2 separate regions of the Homo sapiens genome follow, and region 2 is linked to region 1. Evidence: promoter capture Hi-C in 16 types of primary human blood cells and fetal thymus (Javierre and others, 2016). All regions are on one chromosome and are shown on one strand. The core of a region is centred on a gene start or on the middle of the fragment in contact, and the rest is flanking DNA. Distances in the headings are between cores, read along the strand shown.

Region 1 (4,539 bases), core at 264-2,763:
ATTCACCAGGCTAAGCATCATAAAATCACACACGCTCTTAAAATTTGGCCAGTAATTAATAGTAGTAGTATTATTATTAGTCTTTGTTTTGGGAGATTGCCTTCAGAGAGCTGGAAAATTCATTTCGAATTAATAAGGGTCTTTTTCTTTCAGAAGCATCTCCTAAAAATAAGAACGGGCTAATTAAAAATCTGACAGCCACCCCGATACTTACAGAATTTTTGCATATGCAGGATAGTCATCACAAATTGTATTCTCTGCACGTCATGTCAAAAGTATTCTCATACACTACTAGAGGGAGCTTAAGAATTTAAGGTGTGCAAGAATATATTTCTATCTTTGGCCCACCAGGGCCCTCTTGTAGGAGGCCTGTGTTGGGCGGGAGAGGCCTAGTCGCAGACCCTGTCTTTTCAAGGAGAAAGCCCGCCACTGCTTCCTCTGAGTCTGGAGATAAAACCAGTCCGGCATTGCTACTCCCTAGCTCTCTCCCCCTCCCTTAATTCCTCCTCTACATTTCAGGCGCATTTCTCAGAGTGCCACCTGTTCCTGCTGCTTACCCTTTTCATGCCTTCGCATTGACAAAAGTGAGCTCACCCTGCGGTAACCTTGTCAGGCAGGGCAGGCCAGTGGCCAGAGCAGGGCGTTAGGACCCTTTTGGAGGTAGTCCCAACTGGGATGCTGCAAAGCGCTTCTCTTACTACTGTCCTCCCTAGATGCAGAATTCGTCCCTCCACCCCTCTGTCCAATGGAACCACAGGGCTGGGAAGATTTTACAGCGTCAGTACTTCTCTGTCCGTCCACAGCCCGGTCCCTGAGGCTCTGTCCTCGCCAGGTGAGCCGAGCAGTACCTGGGCGTGGGACCGCTGGCACAAAGGGCACCCAGCCCCGGCAGAGGCTCTAACCTATGGCACACGCGGGCATATAGTGCCACCTGGTAGAGAGTCAACAGTGGTGCTTTAAAATGCAATACAAACCCCTCCTACATTTGTTGTCAAATCACTTCACGATTCCCAGGCAGGCACTGGATTCTGCGCCTGGGAGTAGGGCTGGGGGGGAACGCTGCCTGCATGTGCAAAAATAACCCCCGAAGACGCGAGCCAAGTCCTGGGTTGGAGCCTCTGCAGCCTGTGGATGCCCGCTGGGCGGCTGGCCGTCCCCCGGGAGCCCCGCGGGGCTGGTCCGCTCCGCCTGCGCACGCCGGGCGGCGGGAGCGAGCCGGCGCCGACTTTGGGAGTTCCTGGCTGCCTTGTATGGAGGGCTGCTCCCGGCCCGTCTCCGCCCGACTGCTCTGACGCCCAGCCCTCCCGCTGCCCACCCCCAGCCGCCTCCCTCTGACTTGCCTAAGAAGCCAGACGGAGCCTCTCGCTTCCACAAGTCTCTCTGCCTGCCATTCCCCGATTCCTGCAGCCACCCCCACCCTCCAGCGCCGTCACCCCTCCTCCGCCCCCGCCCCCGCCTCCGCCTTCGCCTCGGCAATCGGGGGAATAAATCAGGGAGGAAACCGAGAGGGAGAGCGAGAGCGCGCGAGCGCCGGCGGGCTCGCCGAGGTCTGTTTCCAAAGTCGCCCTTGATGGCGGCGGAGGCAAGGCGGCCGCGGCGCGGAGCAGCCGACGCACGCTAGTGGGTCCGCCCGCCACCGCCCCTTCCTCGGCGTCCGCTCCCGCCCTTGCCGTCCCCCGCGCGGCTCCGCGCCTCGGGCCCCGGGCGCAGCCAGCCCTCCAGACGCCCGCGGTCCCGGCGGCGTGTGCTGCTCTTCCTCCGCCCGCGGTTTCCAGCGCCGCTCCTTCCCCCGCTTGGGCAGGGAGGGGGCATTGATCTTCGATCGCGAAGATGGCTGCTGGCTGCCTGCTGGCCTTGACTCTGACACTTTTCCAATCTTTGCTCATCGGCCCCTCGTCGGAGGAGCCGTTCCCTTCGGCCGTCACGTAAGTCGGCGGGCCGGGCAGGGAGCGCCGGCCGAGGGGCGCCGCGGGAGTTGGGGGTGGGGGTCGGTTCCCGAGTCGCGGGGCTTTTCCGCCCGTGGGGGTGGGGAGCGAGCGGCCGGGGAGCCAGGCTCGGATGCGGAGACGCCGGGCAGGCGGTGCGCGCCGCTCGCCGCTGGAATGCGTCCCGAACCGGCGTCTCGGGCGCCTCCACGGGGCCGGGCACTGGGGGCCGACTGTCCCGGGAAGCGCCCGCCGACGACTCGCGGCGTCTCAGCCCGTCTCTAACGGGATTCTCTAGACTTCAGAGTGCAGCCGTACTGGGGAAAAAAGTTTCCAGCCAGCTCACCCGCTCTGATTCAACCCAGTTCAATAAAAAGTTATGTTTTGGTTGGGTAATTTACAAACAGGTAATTTCAGGCTTGCCGAGGTAGCGTGGACTTCCCCCGCACTTGGCCTCGGAGATGCTCTTTAATTGCTGTAGTGCCCAAACTCGTTTTATCCCACGTTACTGGATGCACTTGACAGCCTTCCGATTAGACGCGTGCTGGCTCCCCGCGGCCGAGCGTGCTGTCCACGCAGGGGGCTCGCAGGTACTGGGACCACGCGATCCAACCTCCCCAACCCATTATTTGAAACATCTAAGTGTCGGCAGACACGCGGTCCCTGTTCTTCAAATGAATAGAGCCTATTCTTTGAAGGAGGGACTATTTCCAGTCTCCTACAAATTTTCTTTTATTTTTACCATTTCTAAAATAACTTTTAAAAACCTCGCTGCTGTTCTGGAAATAGAGGGCTTATAGGTAGCTATAGTCACACCACAGGAAGGGAATGAAAAATAATAATTCTCTCCTTTCTTAGCAAAATAGAATCAAACTCAATGGCACATATAAATATATACATATTTTTTAATGCACCGAATAGCCTATCCGGCATTCTGGGAAAGCATTTATTTTGGTTCTTGGAGCTTCTTTAAAGCTTCTAAAGGTAGGTAATCTTAAGTGGATGAGTCACTTTAATGCATTTTACATAACAAAAACAAAGCCCAAGGTAGCTTTCCCGGTATTTATGCTGCTGGGAATTACTTGCTGTCCTTTGTTGGCTGAGTGCTGAATACAGGAGTTTTTGGTGGAAAGTAACAGTGAATCTTTAGCGGTTGAAATCCTGCGGCTATTATTTAAGATTCAGTTTTAAGTATTTATTACCTTAGGTGTCAGTGCAAGAATCTGGAGGATGCACATTCTATCCCGGAGAAGGGGAGTGTCTAATTTTTGTTGTCATTGAGTTACAGTAATGTTCCTCTTTAGATAATCTTCCATAAAACTGATTGCAGATCCTTTTTGTTATGAAGCAAAAGGGTAAATGCCATCTGGAGATCTTCGTTTAATTGGCAGGATGTTCCAGTCAGATATTTTTAAACATAAAAAGAGTAAGAATCACCCTAAGGATGCTTCAGAATTATTTACTCTTATTAAGGCATCACACTTCCATTTAATTTTTTAAGTCTGTTTGTTGCTTGGCCTGTAAAGTGAGAACTCAAATGAGTCGCTTGCATTCTGTGTCAAATAAATAAGTGGCTCTTTAAAAAACAATCACTTCCTAAATGTGTTCCGATTACTCATTTTTACAGTGTTGTTTTTAACTGACAATTTATCAATATTTTTATCATGGGAGGGGATACATCATCATACCATTGGGGAAAACTACAACAAAATACAACCTTTTATTCCTCAACATACTGTGGTAAAATATTAATGTAAAAATCCTTATTGTTAAGAAGAACATCTGCAATAATGCTTTCCTAAAATTATAAGTAAATCAATTTTCATGGTCAGAAATTTACTAGACACAAGAAAGAGTATATATAGTGGGTTAAAATGGGAAGTAGGACATCACAATTTCTTTTCTTTGGAAGGATCTGAAATTTTTTTTAACGATGAAAATTCAAGATATTTTCAAATTATATAAGACATTGATTATTTAATGAATGAAATACTTAATAAAAGGTTTTGTGGAGCGAAGTCAATCTCCTGTAGGTAATCTTAACAATATTTTTGGAAGCCTTCTGCATCTTCAGTTTTTCATTTGAAAAGTTAGTAACACTGTCTTCTGAGGAAAGAACTGATGGTTGACATTTGTACTTCATGTTAGATTTCTGAATAAACTTTATGAAATTAAAAAATGCAATATTTTTCATAAAGATGTGCCATTTGCTTTTCTTTCGAGAAAAGAATTCATATGCACTGTTTAATCAGGACAAATCTCAAATCTTTGGGGGAAAATTTCAAATTTATAAAAACTGAGTGCAAAGACTGTAGTGTCAATAAAGGCAAATTATTATGCTTCTGTATGTAAATTTCTCTCGGAATCATTAGTAAATATTTTTGGGTTTTTTTTTTTGCCAGTTTCATTTTTCACAGAAAAAGTAATGTAAGAAGTTTTTATCAGCTGAAGAGGAAGAGCATGCCATCACACACTATAAAATTAATTATGCACTAATTGGAGTTGGACTTCAATTAGAATTAGTAGTTCAAAGTTTTTTTTTAAAAATATAGAGTGTTTACATTTGTGTGAAGGGCTTAAATTCTATTATGGTAAAACAAATGATGTGTCAGTT
Region 2 (4,805 bases), core at 2,095-4,594, 190 kb after region 1:
TATTGCTTCAAAACATATAACTGATACCATATTGCTAACTCAGAAAATGATATGCTTATTTAGGCAAAGAAAGGCCACACAACCTAAAGGGATGTAAATGCTTTTATTTCTTCCTCCTACCACTAGGAGTTTCCACCAAAACGACGCTTAAGAATTAGGAACAGAAATAATAGGGTGACACTTAAAAGCTGCTAATAGTAACCATATGTGATGATGGATGTATTAATTAAAGTGTCATAATCATTACATAATATATATATATTAAATCATAATATACACCTTGAATATGTACAGTTTTTACTTATCAGTTATACATCAGTGAAGCTGGAAGAAAAAATAATAGAGCAAAACAAAGAAAGGTTTAAAGCAAAGTGAACCAATAAAAGGTATATGAAAACAAGTAACCTTTTATGGTTCCTTCTCCCTACAATTACAAACATATGGTAGTATACTTTTTTTTTCCTACTAAGCACATTCGGGAAAACACAGGATTTATGCTGAAAGTTAAGTTATTTTGTTTGTTTTATATTTATTTTTGAAAGGACAGAAAAAGAATTAACCAAATTGCGGAGATGGATTGGGGTAAGGGAAGATGTGATCTTTTAAAACTTTTAATGATGTATAATTCGATGGCACCCTATTTAGTATGTAGTGAAGCAAAAATATGTTTACTATTTATTTTCGGTAAATCAGAGATTAGATGAGTAATCTATTGGTAGCATCAACTTTTAATGCTTTGTTTTTAAGTTGGAATAGAAACACTCCTCAAGCACAGAATCTAGGGGAGGGTAAAGCTATTCATCAAACAGTGTTGTCAAGAAAACAAAAGAGTTTATTTCTTTCCAAAAAAAATCTGCCATCTAAAAAATATTTTGACCTCATGTTTCTTAGCCATGTGGGAACATACTAAATTCAAGGTTCAGTAGCTTCAGGTAATCTGCTCTGAGACCTTGCAAGTTTCTGGAGAATAAAGACCATATATACATTATTTCTAGTGTAAAAATCATGTAATATCATAAAAACACATTATATAGGACCATGACATTTATTAAACAAAAAGTTATATAAGAATTTAACATGAAAGATCATTAACATTAATGTTCATTTATTTTGTATGCCGGTATCTCAAGACTTCTCAGATTCTTTTAGTTTATCTTACTTTTGTGTATCAAAATATTTATTGGTATCTTTTAGATTTCCTTGTAACCTGAAACCATCTTCCAGAGCCAGTTTTTCTCATCATGCCCTTGATGAAAGTTCTTGAACATTGTGTGATACATGCAGTATGACAATACCTTAATTACAAAGTTCCTTTCTCTCTTCATGGATCTCCTTTTCAGTAAAATGTAGAAGTCTGGCCATGGCCCTATGCCTGCCTCACATGATGCGCTTATCATTTCTGGTCTGTGTTTCTGTCTTCTTGCTTTAGATTCTCACAGCCCTGTGATTTGATTCATTTTCCATACTACTGCCAATCATCTTTTTCAGATTCAAAACTTATCACTTTTTCTATCCCAAATTCTGTAATGGTTTCTCATTCTCTTTGTTATGAAATCCAAATTATTTTGAAAGTCAAATCCAGTATAAGCCCTTCTTCTCCAGCCATTCCTCTCTATAATCCACTCACACTTCCATTTCCCTGAATGTTCACTTTGTGCCCTGACCTTTGGACACCCTTAATTTTATTCCTCAGCTGGTTAACTTCTCATTCTTTAAAATTGGGCTTTCTCCACAGAACCTTCGTATGTTTTAGCCTCTCTTATCTCTCCCTCAATCCACCCTGCCAGCTACCACAATTTGTGTCTGGGTTAAGTGTTTGTTTTTTTTTTTCTGACGAATTCTCACTCTGTCACCCAGGCTGGAGTGCAGTGGCGTGATCTTGGCTCACTGCAACCTCTGCCTCCCGGGTTCAAGCAATTCTCCTGCCTCAGCTTCCTGAGTAGCTGGGACTACAGGCACGCACCACCACGCCCAGCTAATTTTTGTATTTTTAGTAGAGACAGGGTTTCACCATGTTGGCCCAGATGGTCTCGATCTCTTGACCTCATGATCTGCCCGCCTTGGCCTCCCAAACTGCTGGGATTACAGGCGTGAGCCACCACGCCCGGCCAAGTGTTTCCTCCTCTTGCTTAAATAGCATAGTTCTTATCAAATGGCAGTGACATTTTCTAGTAGTGTAACACCTACTATTTTTGTAACTCCTTGAGGTCAGGAACTCTAAGTCTCTACTGATGAGTGCAGCGGGCATTCAATAAATATATGCTTAATAAATGAGCCAATGCATGTTTAATTAAGAGAGTATGGATGGTATAGTTGTGATAAGGCCAGACAGGCCTGCCAGTTTTCAAATATTGGCTCCACTACTCATTAGCTGTTACTGAAAGGCAAGTAACTTCACCTCTCTTTACTTTGGAAAAATGAGTGCTATAAGCATAACTACCTCAGAGCATAGTTGTAAGGATTACATCAAGCAGTTTGCAAAATGCTTGGCCTATCATCAGCACTCAAATAAATGTTTATTATTATTATTGTTGCAAAGGGAAGAAGCTTACTGAAATTTAGTTTCTATTTTGCCCCTTGCAAAGCATACTCGCATTCTCATTTTAAAACAAGAAGAATAGGGTAGGATGTTTTTGGAAAACAATCATTGTTATATTGTCTAATAAATAAAATATAGTAAATGACATAAAAAATTGAAATCTCTTGTATTTTGAAAGACACAGATTGGGGTATTCCAAAGTACATATATCATAGAGAAATAAAGTGATAATCACTAGGCTTTTTATCTTGCATGTCCCTTGTAGTTCTGCGACTCATAACTGTTTATGGACAAAAAATGTTAAAGGTTGCCCATGGGAAGCTAAGGATGTGTCATCAGATAGGTCCAGATTTGCATCCTATCTCCTGCTCCTTCCAAGCTATGTAACCACTAATGGACTACTTGATATTTTCTAATTGGGAGTTATTCTAATGAATCTAATGTATGGCATACACAAAGCTGGAAAAAGATTTTCAATGTATGGCTCTGAAAATGAAAAGAACAGAGGGCATAATAACATCAAATCACTTACATACCTAGAAAAGCAACGGAAAAAAGCATTACAGCTTAATCCTTTCACACCCATATTGTCCTTGGGCAGATAACCAGTGGAGTAATTGCTTTACAAGGATCTAGTTGTCACAGCACAATGATAATACATTGTACTCTTAAATTATTTTATATATGTGTGTATGTAAATATTTCCTTTGAGGTACCATGAATGTACAATGAAATGCACAAATCTTAAGTTTGAAATTCAGTGAGTTTCGACAGAAGCCTACAGCAATGTATAACAAATTACTATCAAGATATAGATAATTTCCAGTACCCAAAACATAGTTTTGTGTCTCTTTTTGTGATTGTTCTTAGTACAGGATTTAAAATCTCTGTTTTCAGATATCACAGCAGCAACCTATTTTAGGTGGTAGTGAATTGATCATTTTACAGGCTTTTTAAAAATGTGGAAATTATACAAGTGGCAGAAGCAGGTGATTTCTGGCTTTAATACTGTTCAGTAACTTCTTATTACATCATGGCGTTGAGAGATGGGAGATACAGGAGAGTATGAGAACAGCATTCATTATTATGTTCCCTTGCTTAAAGAAGATTTTTGAATACAGATACAGATATCTGACTTGTTATGTGTCATATGACTGCTTCTTATAGTTTTTGGCTTTATTTATTCAAATAAATAGATAAATATGTACAACAGACTCTCTAATTTTTGAAAATATATGGGAAAAGGTTATTAAAAATGATACAAATCAAGTCCTGAGATATTCTTGTGGCAAACTGTAAGTGATTTTTGATTGCTGATAGTCTGGGAAAAATGCTAGTGATAGAAAGCAATTATTTCATGTGACAGGTATTTGAAATTACCAGTAAACCAGAACTCTTGTGAAATCTTTTCAAGAAAAGAAGAACAGACAAAAGGGCCATTATTTAATTTCTTGGAAGAATGCTATGTACTAAAAGCAAAATGCTAAGTAAGAAATTAAATTAAAATAAAGTTACTATATTATGATGTTAGAAGTTGGTATTTGTTAAAATTTGAGAGCTAACACATAAAATTATTGCTTAAGCAATAACAATAGAAGCTTAGACTCCTACTAGAATAGTGAATCTCCTCAGAGAAAAGATAATTAAAGCCACTAGGTGCAGATCCCTAAGAATTGCCTGTATGTACCTACTTATGTGATGAAGTTAAAAGGATATTTCAGGATATATCCACAGGAAATTATATAAGATTTTATATGTTATTTAAGAAACAAAAATGCTTTCCTACAATGAGAATTTATTTTTATAGGATTATGCTTTTCTCTCTCCACGTAGTATTATAAAGCTTCCTTAAAATGCAGGAGAATTGCAGAAGAGCAGTAGAGACAGTTTTGCCCATTACTTACTACTGTGGTTTGAATGTATTCCCCAAAAGTTCTTATGTTTGAAACTTAATTCCCAATGTAGCACTGTTGGGAGGTGGAGCCTAATAAGAGGTGATTGGGCAATGAGGGTGGAGACCTCATGAATGGATTAATGTCAATGTCTCAGGAATGGGTTAGTTATCATGGGAGTGGGTTATTACAAATCCTGCCACTGGTGCCTCTCTCTGTTTACTTGCTTGCTTCTGCCTTCACCATGGGAAGACCCTCGCTGGTGCTAGCACCATGCTCTGGGACTTGACAGTCTCCAAAACTGTGTGCCAAATAAACTTCTGTTCTTTATAAATTACCCAGTCCATGGTTTTCTAATATAGCAGCAGAAAATG

Evidence for each region. The method cuts DNA at HindIII sites, captures the fragments that hold promoters and counts their contacts. A CHiCAGO score of 5 or more calls a contact.
Region 2: a fragment that was not itself captured here is called in contact with the fragment with the promoter of CACNA2D1 in region 1 in 1 of 17 cell types (endothelial precursors); the score reaches 5.4 in endothelial precursors.

The regions. Positions count from the first base shown.
Region 1 is chr7:82,440,751-82,445,289 of GRCh38, reverse strand. CACNA2D1 (calcium voltage-gated channel auxiliary subunit alpha2delta 1) reads left to right here and starts at 1,513. Exons shown (of 39, transcript NM_000722.4): 1 at 1,513-1,925. The coding sequence starts at 1,831. RefSeq lists an enhancer at 2,508-3,071. The HindIII fragment of the contact is 3,454 bases long and covers 1-2,902 here.
Region 2 is chr7:82,249,915-82,254,719 of GRCh38, reverse strand. All of the region lies in intron 3 of CACNA2D1 (calcium voltage-gated channel auxiliary subunit alpha2delta 1), which reads left to right. Among named protein-coding and RNA genes, the nearest start is that of CACNA2D1, 190 kb to the left of the region's middle. The HindIII fragment of the contact is 1,590 bases long and covers 2,550-4,139 here.